2 separate regions of the Homo sapiens genome follow, and region 2 is linked to region 1. Evidence: promoter capture Hi-C in human tissues and cell types (Jung and others, 2019). All regions are on one chromosome and are shown on one strand. The core of a region is centred on a gene start or on the middle of the fragment in contact, and the rest is flanking DNA. Distances in the headings are between cores, read along the strand shown. Region 1 holds the start of VWA2 (von Willebrand factor A domain containing 2). Region 2 overlaps TDRD1 (tudor domain containing 1).

Evidence for each region. The method cuts DNA at HindIII sites, captures the fragments that hold promoters and counts their contacts. A contact is called where the count stands out against the background at its distance.
Region 2: a fragment that was not itself captured here is called in contact with the fragment with the promoter of VWA2 in region 1 in 1 of the 25 tissues and cell types used here (H1 embryonic stem cells).

Annotation. Positions count from the first base shown.
Region 1 is chr10:114,237,808-114,240,507 of GRCh38, forward strand. VWA2 (von Willebrand factor A domain containing 2) reads left to right here and starts at 1,447. Exons shown (of 14, transcript NM_001272046.2): 1 at 1,447-1,762. RefSeq lists an enhancer at 1,358-2,066. The HindIII fragment of the contact is 6,749 bases long and covers 1-2,700 here.
Region 2 is chr10:114,188,883-114,191,582 of GRCh38, forward strand. TDRD1 (tudor domain containing 1) reads left to right here. Exons shown (of 25, transcript NM_001395205.1): 3 at 2,079-2,137. Among named protein-coding and RNA genes, the nearest start is that of TDRD1, 11 kb to the left of the region's middle. The HindIII fragment of the contact is 5,775 bases long and covers 1-2,700 here.

The DNA of each region.
Region 1 (2,700 bases), core at 197-2,696:
TGGTGTGCACCTGTGATCCCAGCTACTCGGGAGGCTGAGGCAGGAGAACCATTTGAACCTGGGAGGCAGAGGTTGCAGTGAGCCAAGATCATGCCATTGCACTCCAGCCTGGGCAACAGAGTGAGACTCTGTCTCAAACAAAAAAAAAAAAAAAAAAAACAAAAAAACAGGACTTTGAAGACAGCATAAAACATCTTTATTGATTACATGTTGAGATAATGTTCCGGATGTTTAGGTTAATACTGAAATCCAGCTTGCTGTTTCTTTTCACTTTTTATTAAATGTGACCACTAGAACATTTAAAATTACACACGTGGCTTGGTCAGTATTTCTCTGGGGCAATGCTGATCTAGAGGCAGAGACCATCCCTCCCCAGCAGTTAGACCTCAAGACTAACTGCTGTCCCCTGTGGGGATGATGTGGTGGTACATTATGTCTGCTGCTCTGGTGTGGCCCTGTTTTTATTTTTGGGTGCTCAGTAAATGTTACTGGGAGAAATGAATTACAGGAAAAATGAGTCCTTTCCTAGCCTCCTTCAATGAGGTTTGCAACATTAAAGTCACCACGGGCCACTTTCACTGGAAGCTGTCAGTGTCGGAGGTTTGGAAATTAACTGAGAACTACAGACAGGAAAGGTGTAAAGCAAATTATTTTCCTATCAGATTGACATTTACAAGAATAATGGGAAGGAGCATGGAAAAGAGGAAGCAGGTCAACCTTCCTTGAGGACAATTAGATAATAGGCATCAAAAGTCTTAAGTTGTATAAAACCTGTATCCTAGAAATTTACCTTTTCGTAGTTTATTCTAAGGAATTAATTGGACAAAAGCACAAAGACATCTAATTGTATTATTAAAATGGAAAGTTTAATATTCAACAATAGCAGATAGGTTAAGTACATTAGGACATTATGAAGTGGCTTAAAACGGACATTCAAAAAAAGGAAATGGAAAACCTGAGTAATGTACAGCTTGTATGGAATGAACTAAAAATATATAAATTTTTGCATAGGTAGAATGACATTGGAAGAACATACACCACAATGTTAACTGATTATCTCTGGGTGTTGGAAAATGATTGATTTATCAACTTTTTTACTGTTATTTCTTTTCTTTTTTTTTTTTTTGCAATGAACAGGCATGCTCTGGCAGTTTTTAAATGAAGTATGGAAATTATGGATTGTGCAGTCATAGTCAACGTTCATTGAGAGCTTACTTTATATAAAGCATCATGCTCAGCATTGTGCTTTGTGGCATTTGATTTTTTAAAAATCAAACGCCCTCCAATCTTAAGCAAGGATGATGGCCAAAAGGTCGGCTTATTACCCAACTGCAACAATAGGAGGGACAGGTAATTAAAAGGCAATTGCCATGACAAATAGAAAAGATGCCAAAGTCAACATTTTTTCAAGGAGCTATAAAGCCCGTGGAGGAGTCAGCTGACGGCACAGTGTTCGCGGCTGCACCGCTCGGAGGCTGGGTGACCCGCGTAGAAGTGAAGTACTTTTTTATTTGCAGACCTGGGCCGATGCCGCTTTAAAAAACGCGAGGGGCTCTATGCACCTCCCTGGCGGTAGTTCCTCCGACCTCAGCCGGGTCGGGTCGTGCCGCCCTCTCCCAGGAGAGACAAACAGGTGTCCCACGTGGCAGCCGCGCCCCGGGCGCCCCTCCTGTGATCCCGTAGCGCCCCCTGGCCCGAGCCGCGCCCGGGTCTGTGAGTAGAGCCGCCCGGGCACCGAGCGCTGGTCGCCGCTCTCCTTCCGGTGAGTCCCAGCCCCGAGTTGGCTCTGGCGCCCGGGTACCCGCCAGTGCCGGCTGCCGATGACCGATTCACGCTCCCGGTACTGGGGCCCCCTCTGCCCAGCCACCCCTACCCAGAGCACCCGGGCTGCGCGGCCCCGCCGAGGGTGCGGGCTTTGTTCGCATTGTCTGCGCGCACCTGAGCGCGGCCTTCCTGGCACGGCGGCGTCGGGGGAAGAGCGCACCTGGCGCGCGCCTCCCTCGTGGCCACTCGCGGTCCGTCCCGGGCGAGCTGGCGGGGTTTTGGGAGGGGTGCGGTCAGCAGGTAAGTGGGTAGGGGCTCCGGGTACAGGGGTGGAGGAGGGCATGTATTAAACCCAAGCTGCCCTCCTGGCACAGTAGCGGGGCCCCCTTCCCTGGCGGCCGCGGAAAGGGACTCGCCCTTTGAATAAAGGCTTTGGTGACATGCTCGCTTCCACCCCACACCCCACTACAGGACATACACAGGTGTTAAGGGGACTTGGGGCAGTTTTCCCAGGCAGAACGAGTGCCCCCAGCGAAGTGTCTGCAAGCAGAACCTGAGAGGGGCCGGCTGCCCCGAGAGTCCTCGCGCTTGGGCAGTGGGAAGTCCAGGGGTTTGTCGTTCTGGTGACTTCCCCCACCTGGCTCAGCCCTGCTTCCTGCATGTCTCCTTCCCTTCCAATAAGGCTAACAAAACTTTCCCTAGCTAAGCCGACCTTTCCCTCCCGCCTTGGGCCCTTGGCCACCTGCTGGGACGGTGAATGGGAGAGTCTCAGAATTGAACCTTGAAAACTTGCTGGGGGCACCAGACAGAAGAGAAGGGAGGAGGGCACCTTGCTGCTTGTGATTGTGGAATCAAGGGCTCCAGCTGAAGCTGAAAGGGGACTTAGCAATGGGGACCTCATGCCATGTGTTTGATGTCTTGGAGATTGGAATAATT
Region 2 (2,700 bases), core at 78-2,577, 49 kb before region 1:
AAAAAAAAAAAAACCTTTCTAAAGAGGTTAGGACCTGGTAGAATTTAGCCTCTTTGAAGGTATATGAGTTGTGGTCTTCTAACATGGTGATATAATTCTCAGAATGTGCGCTTGGGCCTCTGGGCTTCCCCAGGAGGTCAAAACTGTTTTCCTCACAGTATTTGTCTTTTCTGCTATGCCAACTTTATACTAATGGTGCAAAAGCAAATTATTAGCTCAGCTTAAGGCAGGAGCGCCAACCTGAGTTTTTCATCGTCATGCACTTAAAAGGAAAACCAGAAATGCCAACTTCAGTTAAAAATGCACTTGATTGAGCAGTAAAAAGTATTCTGTTAAATCTTGATCATTGTGTGCAGTATTTTTAGTATTTGTGTAATGAAATGGGAATTACTCCTGACTTTTACCTTCTGAAGTAGGAAAACCATGTGTGCAATTGAGTTGTAAGCTGAAGAGAAACTCTCTTCTTGGAACATACTTTTTACTTGAAAAGATGGACACTGGTTATTCAGACTTACCTGGCAAGCATTTTCTCAAAAATTAACAAAGTGAGCCCTTTACTTCAAGGAAAACAGCTGACATATTTTGTCAGTGACAGAGTTCAAGCTTTCAAGCAATTTCGGGTTTTAGGAAACTTGTGTCTGCCACTTTGAGCTTAAGGACTTCCCAAGACAGACTTTTCTGGTGAGATGCATGATGATATTAACACATGAATATTAATATTTTTATTTGGAGACAGTCTCACTCTGTCACCCAAGCTGAAGTGCAATGGCACAATCATGGCTTACTACGGCCTCAAACCCCTGGGCACAAACGATCCTCCTGCCTCAGCCTCCCAAAACCCTGGGATTACGGGCATGAACCACCGCACCAGGCCCTAACACATGAATTTTTGCTATTGCATAATGAAATGTGTCAACAATTGGAAATGCTGCATATAACTCAATGAACCTGTCTTTTCCAAATGACCAATGCGTGGTATTGCAGTCATGCATGCGCAGGAATCCAAAGTGCGGGATAATCAGTGAATTCTAACGTAACAATATGAAAAGTTCCTTGATGTGGTTTTAGAGTTCACATTGCTTCTAACCCTATGCCACTTGTTTTGGTGTACTATTAAAGGCAAATATCCTTCTATTATTTGCCTTTAACAGAGGAGAACATTAAGTATTCCTCCTCGTTGCAAATACCTGTCTCCGGGAGGCCAAACTTTTTTTTTCAGATACCAAAACCAGAAGCAACATTTCACTGAGTTGAAGGCAAAAGCTGTATATGAATCCAGCTGTCTTCTGTTAAGCCAATCATTAATGATATGCAAAAATGTGTAATTCTTCTATATTTTGTTTTGAAAAATATAGTTTTTAAAAATTATCAGCATGTAATGCATTTATTTTTAAATGGATGTTTAAATTTAGTTTTAATTTCTAATACAGTAAATATTGATTGAAATAAGCCATGTAAACAAAAGCTGTGTAGGGTCCTCAGCTTTTAAAAGTGCAGAGGGTTTCTGAAACCAGAAAATTTGAGAACTGCTGCCTTAGTGAATGGAGAAAAGTTCACAATGAGAGGAGCACTAGTCAAGAAAATTTTGAACAAGTCCTTTTATTTATATTTTTACTTTTTTTCAAGACGGAGTCTCACTCTGTTGTCCGGGCTGGAATGCAGTGGCGCTATCTCAGCTCACTGAAACCTCCGCCTCCCAGGTTCAAGTGGTTCTCCTACCTCAGCCTCCTGAGTAATTGGGATTACAAGAGTGCACCACCATGCCCAGCTAATTTTTGTATTTTTAGTAGAGACGGGGTTTCACCATGTTGGTCAGGCTGGTCTTGAACTGCTGACCTCAAGTGATCCACCTGCCTTGGCCTCCCAAAGTGCTGGGATTATAGGGGTGAGCCACTGTGCCCAGCTAAGTCCTTATTTTCTGTTGGGAAAAGTAGGATGTTGCTTATGTTCTGGTGTAGCTATAAGGTCATTGTGGTATAGCCCTGTTACTTGAATATCACCTAATTACACTATTTTTCATTATTAGCAATAAAAAGTATTATTTGGCTTTTATTTGAAATTGTGTTTTTCCTCCCCAGGAAACTCAGTGTCACCACCAAGTGCTGAAAGTAATTCACCACCCAAAGAAGTGAATATTGTAAGTTATTTTATTGTGTGTGTGCTTGTTTGGGTAAAAGATTCTAAACATGTTTTATTTATTTAATAAAGAAGTGTTCAATTTGTAGGTATCATTCAAGATCAAATGTTTTTTCTTTTATGTACATTTTTAAAAAAAGAAAACTTTCTTAGGTTATTGTAGATTCACATGCAGTTGTAAGAAATAATGGAGATCCTGTGTAGTCTTTCACCTATTTCGCCCATGTTAACATGCTGCAAAACTATAGTACAATATCACAACTGGGTTATTGATACACCATCAAGATACGGAACATTTCCATCACTACAAGGGTCCCTTATATACCTTGTTGCTTATGTTCTGGTGTAGCCAATCCACTTTTCCTTCTGCCCCTGCCCTCTTAATCCATAGCAGCCACTGATATGCATATTTCGACAATTTTGACATTTTTGAGAATATTATATAAAAGGCTACATACAAACAGTACGTAACCTTTTGGGATTGGCTTTTGTCATTTCACATAATTATCTGGAAATTGATCTAGGTTGTATGCATCAATCGTTCTATCCTTTTTATTGCTGAGT